Regions from separate parts of the Homo sapiens genome. Here regions 1 and 3 are each linked to region 2. Evidence: promoter capture Hi-C in 16 types of primary human blood cells and fetal thymus (Javierre and others, 2016). All regions are on one chromosome and are shown on one strand. Each heading gives the region's core, a stretch centred on a gene start or on the middle of the fragment in contact. The rest is flanking DNA. Distances are from core to core; before and after follow the strand shown.

Region 1 (2,700 bases), core at 83-2,582, 1.2 Mb before region 2:
TATTATTATTCCTCATGTAAGAAAACCATCTTGAAAATCATGATTGAACCACTTATTAGCAAAAAAACACAATACTTTGGAGAAATATCCAGTGGATGAATGCATGTATAATTTGGGGAATCTTTCAAAGTTACATCAGAGAACAATGTTTATCAGAAAATAATTTAACAAATATCTGAGAGTGATACTATGAAAAGAACCTAAACTAATTTTGGCTATTGGAGTTCCTGTTTTGGGCCTTTTAAATTTTAGGTGATTGACTGTCCAGTTGTCTTCAAGTTGACATTAATAGTTAAAAGAGATTCCATGCATCAAAAATGTGAAAATTAGATATATACGTGATATACAATTCAAAAGCATATGCAGATCTATAAATTAGTACATCCATTCAAATAAAACATGACTAGCACTTATTCCTTTTGCAGAAGTCATAGAATAGATGACAGGTTCTAAGAATCTGTGTTCCTTACTGCCCTGAAGAAGAAAGTCTCTAATCTCTTAATAGGCCTACAAGATAATTAGTTCCTTGGAAAGGTATTTTAATATACCTTTGGATGGCTTCTAAAACGTTATCTTAATGATATTGCCATGATATTTTGGCCCTCAGTAATTTCCAGCTAAACCTTGAGCCAGAAGGCTCAGTCCTCAGTCTAGGCATGGAGCAGTCAAGGCTGGTTTTATTGTGTAAATGTAAAATATTTTAGAGTAACGCTCCCTGTAGGAAACAATGTGACAGCACCACTAAAAAGCCCTCCTATAAACAAATTAATAGTTGAATTAAAGATGGCCAGGCAGGGTGGCTCACGCCTATAATCCCAACACTTTGGGAGGCCCAGGAAGGCAGATCACTTGAGGCCAGGAGTTCAAGACTGGCCTGGCCAACATGGTGAAACCCCATCTCTACTGAAAATACAAAAATTAGCCGGGCATGGTAGTGCATTGCTGTAGTTCTGGCTACTCAGGAGGCTGAGGTACAAGAATTGCTTGAACCCGGGAGGCAGAGGTTGCAGTGAGCCGAGATTGTGCCCACTGCACTCCAGCCTGGGTGACAGAGTGAGACTCTGTCCGCTCCCCACCCCCAAAAGGAAAAGAGATCCTAGATCCTAGTTGCATTTAAATTATATCCACAGAATCACACTGGTCCATTTATATGCATGATTAATTTCAGGAATAGTGGTTTTTAGAATTAGAGTAAGTTTAGGGGCAAATTACTTTAAACTGAGTCCTTCTGATAGAACAAAGAAGTGAAGGGCACACTACTAATATAATATTGATTTAAATTTACTATATGCTTACTATGCTTACACAGTATCAAATGGTTTATACATATATTATTTCATTTAATCTTCAAAAAGATGCTGGAAGTTAGAAATTCCGATCCCCATTTTACAGACGAGGATGACAACTTGGAGGTTGTTTAATGTCTCATTCGAAGTCACCTGGTGGGTAAATTGCAGAGCCAGAATTCAAACCTAGGCCTTTCTGGCTCCAAACCTGAACAAAATCTTAAGAGCTATACTCAACTACCTTCTAAGAGCCATTACTGCTGCTCTCCCAGTGAGACAGAGTCTACTATTAGGACTTCCCAATGACCATTACTATGTGGTGTCAATAAATTATTTTAATCAGGTGTCCAGGCACAGTGGCTCATGCCTGTTATCCCAGCACTTTGGGAGGCTGAAGCAGGAGGATCTCTTAAGCCCAGGTATTCAAAATGAACCTGTACAACATAGCAAGACTCCATCTCTATTAAAAAAAAAAAAAAAAAAACACAAAACAATTAGCGGGGCAAGGTGGTGTGCTCCTGTAGTCCCAGCTACTTGGAAGGCTGAGGCAGGAGGATGGCTTGAGCCCAGGAGGTTGATGCTGCAGTCAGCTGTGATCGCGACACTACACTGCAGCCTGGGCAACAGAGTGAGACCCCCTGCCTCAAAAGAAAAAAAAAAAGGTGTCTTTAAAAATTCAATAATTATCCCTATGTAAACTGTCTGTAGGAAAATAATAGTCTCAGTCCAGATTTGCTATTATTTAAGTTTGGTACAGCAAAGATCAGAAGTTTGCCATGTTGGTCCAGACATCTGAGTGATAAGTAAACAAATCAGGAGAGGACTAAGGGAGAGAGCTAGGCAGGTCTTAACAGGAAAATGCATATGGATCATCAGAAGTAAATTCATGCTATTTTCACCAAGTACTTCAGTTGTTAACCAAGACTAACATTTCCAGTCTAATATTATATGCAGAAAAATTCATTTGCCACAAAGCTAGAAAAGAAATAGGTTAGCAATTTTGAACACTAGGGTTTATCTTAAGAAAGATAGCTTTTGAAACTTTAACTTTTTATTAACTAAAATTCTGTATTGTTTGATAAACTTCAAAATGGGCCATTATTTTTAAAATAAAAAAATTAAGAGTAAAATTAAACTCTAACAAAACCCCAGGGCTCTTCAAATAGGATAATGAAAGGAAATAGAAGGTTCAAGTCTGCATTTGCCTCTAGTCTGGTGAATCCTGAGACACATATCCATTTGCCTTTTGTGGTTCAGAATTTCTTGACTCCCAAGTTACTGATTTCCTGATAACATAAAATATGGAATGATCTAATCTACCCAGAATGAAAAAATTATCACAGATCATGTCCTCATGGTGAGGGGAGTTATATAGGAAGCACTCAAGGAGGAAACAGCCTGCTGCCAAAAATAA
Region 2 (2,700 bases), core at 1-2,500:
TACTACTCAAACACACCTTTCACGATTCAATACCTTGTTACAAGATGTTCTCAGGCTCAGATGTCCTTCCCGATTTAAAACTGACTGATCCTTTTAAAACACGGTCATGTAACCTCCTCAGTGAAACAACCCTAAACATAATCATTCCGTTACCCAGGTTCCCAGAACATGCTGCTTTTTCTTCTACTTAAGCATGCATCTGGCCTCATGAGAGAATGAGAACATACACATCTGTTTCTCCTATCAGACTGTAAAATTTTGGATGGCCTCAGTCTCTTACCTCTCACAGACTAATACCGAGCCAAATACCCAGAAAGAACATATGAAACAAAAGTGACTTAGAAGTCTCGTTCTCAGTGAAAATCTCGGATTCCAAGTCAGAAATCAAAGAATGCAGTTCCAACTTCTCATGCCTCGTCTTTTCTGAAAAGTGATCCCATTTTCTGTCATCTCTGGATACTTCCTAATGAACTCCAGTCTATTCCCAACGTTTTCCTAATTTGCACACTCTGTATTCCATAAAACGATCAACTAGCTTGAAAGCTTCGGCCATTAATGAAAGTAATTTATGTTTTCCTCTTCCATCTGCTCCTCCAATAACCAGTCTCCAAAGAAAAAGATCAATATTATACTAAAAGTGACTAAGGGAGGGAAAACAACTACCAGATTTTATCCCCAAATCGTTTCGTGCAAGAAAAATAAACAAGTAACTGACGCTTGAAGACACACAAGGGTAGGAGTAACGGAATCTCGGTTTAACCAAATTCGATTCAGTCTGCCGGAAAAGCGGCTGCCGTATTTCAGTGCTTTTCTGACCCTCTTCTGCACAAACTATGGGGACGACAGTGTCGAGAGGCGAGTGAGACCTTCTCCCCACGCCCGCTTCCCCGATCCCTTGCCCACGAATCCTACTGAGGAAGCCGCTTAAACGAGGCCCTCTGGTCAGAGAAGAGAAGCTACTCTGAAGTAGCAGGTCCCAAACACTGAACAAAGCGCCTGTCGGGGGTGTAAGAGGAGGACGCCATTACGCGGGGCAGTGGCCTGCGCCGCTGGCGCGGAGGAGACGACCCTTGGCCCCGAAACGCGGGCTCAGCTCCTACGAAAGAAACCATAGAAAAAGGCAGAATCCTAGGAAAAAAGGCTTTTATTAGGCTAGCAACGAAGAAAACACGTAAGCAGGGAAAGACCGCTTACCTTCGTGAGTCTTGGCGATCTTCGCCATTTTGTCCACTCGAACACACAGACGGAACTGGCGCTCCCAAGAACTTCCGCTCGTCGCCGCCGCCACGGAGAAAAATAGCTGGGGGCTGCACTCTGCGCGTGCGCCAAACGGGAGCGCGCTCCGTCGGGTGACACGTGACAGAACTGCCACCTAGAGGGAACCGCGAGGTGCATTGTGGGTGGGGGAGGAGACACGGTTGGGCCCTGAAGTCGCCTGCGTGGTGACCCAGGAAATCCCCGAGCCGAGCCGTAAGGTCCTTAAGTGAGTAACTTTGCCCTGGAGGAAAGTGGATTCTACGAAGGGAGTTAAGAACAGACACTGAGTCCCAGCAACTCTGGAGGCTGAGGCGGGAGCATCGCTTGAGCCCAGGAGTTCGAGGCAGCCGTGAGCCGTAATCGTGTCGCGCCACTGTACTCAAGCCTCCAGACCGGGCGACAGAGCAAGACCCCGAGACCCCTCCCATTAAAAAAAAATGAACACTGTACGAAACGCTGCGGTTTCAGAGCTGGAAGAGACCTCAGACATTCAATCCCTTTTCCCAAAATTCACTGGAAGAGCTCGAGGAAAACTTTCCCTTGCAGCTGTCTCAGTCTTTACAGTGCTTAGTTACGAAGACAGTCTTAACAGTCCCATCTTTCGCCCTGTAATTCAAGGTCATTTTTCATTCTTTCTGTTTAATAATTGCAAATAATTTGGGTAGGAATTTCGTTGAGCCTCACAAATCGTTGCTGAGTTGCACAGTGACAATCTTGCCACCCTTTTAAAGCCTTTTACTTTATGGGTTCCTAGAAAACCACTCATCGTCATTATTAACATTCATTAGATGTTTCTCTTAAATCCTAGACGGTATTCCTAAATCAGGAATTTTAATAGATCAGAATACGGCAGTCTGTTTTCCTGGGCATCAATTATAATATAACCTTGTACTGTCACACTGGTCTTTGACTTCGACGATGAAAAAGAAAGAAAGGCTCAGAAAGATGGGTCCCGGAAGCAGCCGAGGAAAACAGGTAGTTATCAAGGTTAGAGCCATCACAAAGAGAGGAGTACCTCGCTATGTGATAAACCTGCAACCCAAATACTAACCATACCATGGGTCAGTATGGTCGTTTGAAGGGAGGGAAATGGTATGGGTGTATTCCTCTTGCAGGAAGACCCCATATCTACTTTGGGTAAAGTGAGGAGCCATTTTCCTGAGGCTAGCGGTAGGTGGGAGATATATGGACAATGGCACTGGACTGAGAGCTTAGATAACCTGTCCCTGGTGACTCCTGACCTGCAGCCTTGCTCCCTCTTTCCCTCTCACCAGACTCCCTCCCTTCTTCAGATCAGGTGACACAAACGATTTTTTTTCTGTTTTTTTGACACACAGTCTTGGTTTGTTGCCCAAGCTGGAGGGCAGTGGTGCGATCACAGCTGACCCTAACTTCGACCTTAAGGTTCAAGAGACTCTCCTGCCTCAGTCTCCAGAGTAGCTA
Region 3 (2,700 bases), core at 14-2,513, 1.3 Mb before region 2:
CATGGTGGTATACGCCTATAATCCCAGCACTTTGGGAGGCTGAGGCAGGAGGATCACTTGAGGCCAGAAGTTCAAAACCAGTCCTGGCAACATAGCGAGATCCCATCTCTATGAAAAAATTTAAAAATTAACTGGGTGTAGTGGCTCGCACCTGTAGTCCCAGCTGCTTGGGAGGCTGAGGCAGGAGCATCACTTGAGCCCAGAAGTTTGAGGTTGCAGTGAGCTATGAATGTGCTACTGCAGTTCAGTTTGGGCAATAAAGCGAGATCTTATCTCAATAAATAAATAAATAAATAAATAAATAAATAAATAAAGTTATAGGTTTCACATAATAGGTAATTTAATACGACAAGATAATAATTATTCATTTTAAACTTATTTTCACATGGCTAAAGAAATTTGGTGGTAAATGCACATATTGTGAGTTATATTACTGACGTGAAGGACTACAAGAAATAGAACTTCTTCCACGGATTGGCTATGTTTCAGTACTAAACTCAGAAACTCTCAAAGGTCTTAAGAGTCCCTCCTTTGACAGGACCTAGCACAGAGCCTGCTATGTATGAAGTGCTCAATAATTTTGTTGGAAGAGTGACTAACCTATACATAAAGCTTTATTTCGAAGTTCTGTATCTGAAGCTCATATATGTATCTGGAAATTTGTGATGTTTATATGCATTCAGTGTTATCAAAACTATTATATTAATTGCATTCATAAAACAATAACAGATACTATATTTCAAGACACTTATGACTTATTGCTATGCCTACTTAATAAAATATCAATTATTATTCTTTTAGCACCCTCCTGTAGTAACCCGCTAAGCATTTGTTCCTCCTCTGACATCTTTTTTTCCTATTTTCTACTTATATGTACTGTTCTTTATCTTCTTAAATTCAAATGCCAACTATAGTCTACTTAGCCAAAAAGCAGTGTCATTAGAGTTCAGCGTTTTCAGTTTCTACATTTTCTCTTCTTGGTGTTATTCTCAAATTATGAACGCGTCACTGCAGTTCAGCCTGGGCGATAGATGGAGACCTTGTCTCAAAAAATTAAATTAAAATTATAGCTTTCACATAACTAGATAGTAAAATTGTTTTCTCTACATCTCTTAGTCTTTGGGGAAACAGCTCTAACTAGTTTTGGGGTACATCTCTAGGAGTCAAAGGGTTGTAGTGTAGCATTCTGAGAATAACCTTTAGACTGAAAGACACCTGGGTCTGAATTCCATTCATCCATCATACCAGCTATGAGACCTTAATTAAATTATTTAACTTTGCTATTGTTATGGGCTGAATTGTGTCCTCCCCCAAATTCCTAAGTTGAAAAACCCTAACCCCTGTATCTCATAATGTGACTGTCTTTGGAGACAGGGCCTTTAAAAAGGTGATTAAGTTAAAATGAGGTCATTAAAGTGGGCCAATTAGGACACAGACACACACAGAGGAAAGACTATGTGAACACACTAGGAGAAGGCAGCCATCTACAAGCCAAGAGGGCAGGCCTCAGAAGAAACCAACCCCGCAGACACCCTGATCCCAGATTTCTAGCCTCCAGAATCGTTGAGAAAATATACTTCTGTTAAGTCGCCTGATCTGCGGCAACACAGTTATTTAAAAAGAAAACAAAATATATAATATTTCAAATGTAAGATAAGGAACACTATATACAAACATTTACTTTCCAATCTTATTACTTGGTCATATTTCATTTAAATTAAAAATAAAACATATTAGACATAGCCCCTTCTTTCCACCCCCAGTTTACACTCCCACTAGCACTGGATGGGACGGTTTATCACTACTTTGACAATACTTGCCCAATTCAGACTTTTAAGTTTGGCTATTCTAGTGTGATGAAGGTGAAATGGAATTTTGTTGTGATTTACTTCGCATTCCCTTTTACTGGTGAAGAAAGCTTCGATTTTGCTGCCTCTAAAGTATGGATGATAAAAGAATTGATCTTCCAGTGCTGCAAGGATTAAAAATTAAAATATGCTGAACTCATGTCCACTGACACAGGTACAGTGCAAGTCACAAGGGCATATCGCTATTGTTCCACAAAACAAAATTAACATTCTACCCAAAAATACTCTCCCTGCAGTTCCCTGCCATTGTTGAACAGCTGTACTGTTTCCATGTACAAAATTCTCATCCCAACTTAGTCTAAACTTCATTCTTAAAAGTATTTTTGTTTTCTGTTTTAACTACTTATGTATCTTCTTAGTTCTGATAGCGCTCAGTTTCACTGATTTTTTTCCATTGTTCTGAAAGATCAATATGGGTACCAATTTCCTCATAAGTTCATCTATTTATTAAAAATATACCTACATCACAAGCTGCTTTAGGCATCCATTAAGCATTTCTTAAGTTCATTTTCCTTTTATTTACTGCATCTGAACCAATTGTCAGAGCCAAGATATTTTTCCATTTCCTCTCCTTTGGCCAGTTTTGCATATAGTGGAGCATGAATGTCACCTTTGTCCACCAAGCCCTCCTCAAACATCTGGTTGCCCTTCATATAAGGTACATGCAGGTTATGAGTCAGCTCTCTGTCGCTCCTTCTTGTATCTTCCTAAATTTCCCACCAAATTCTCTTTAACTCCAACAATTCCCAGGCCTTTTCTTGTCTTCTACCACACTTCATATTACCGATTCTAAATTACCTATATGTCTCACTCCATTTGAAATTCATTTCAT

What was found. The method cuts DNA at HindIII sites, captures the fragments that hold promoters and counts their contacts. A CHiCAGO score of 5 or more calls a contact.
Region 1: a fragment that was not itself captured here is called in contact with the fragment with the promoter of SF3B1 in region 2 in 1 of 17 cell types (neutrophils); the score reaches 5.1 in neutrophils.
Region 3: a contact is called between a fragment that was not itself captured here and the fragment with the promoter of SF3B1 in region 2, in 1 of 17 cell types (erythroblasts). The highest score is 7.3, in erythroblasts.

What each region holds. Positions count from the first base shown.
Region 1 is chr2:196,264,418-196,267,117 of GRCh38, forward strand. All of the region lies in intron 17 of HECW2 (HECT, C2 and WW domain containing E3 ubiquitin protein ligase 2), which reads right to left. Among named protein-coding and RNA genes, the nearest start is that of HECW2-AS1, 5.7 kb to the left of the region's middle. The HindIII fragment of the contact is 8,514 bases long and covers 1-2,700 here.
Region 2 is chr2:197,433,778-197,436,477 of GRCh38, forward strand. It overlaps SF3B1 (splicing factor 3b subunit 1), which reads right to left and starts at 1,251. Exons shown (of 25, transcript NM_012433.4): 1 at 1,195-1,251. The coding sequence starts at 1,222. RefSeq lists enhancers at 588-1,134, 879-2,078, 1,320-1,629, 1,650-1,699. The HindIII fragment of the contact is 13,845 bases long and covers 542-2,700 here.
Region 3 is chr2:196,163,763-196,166,462 of GRCh38, forward strand. All of the region lies in intron 1 of STK17B (serine/threonine kinase 17b), which reads right to left. Among named protein-coding and RNA genes, the nearest start is that of STK17B, 6.5 kb to the right of the region's middle. The HindIII fragment of the contact is 1,306 bases long and covers 611-1,916 here.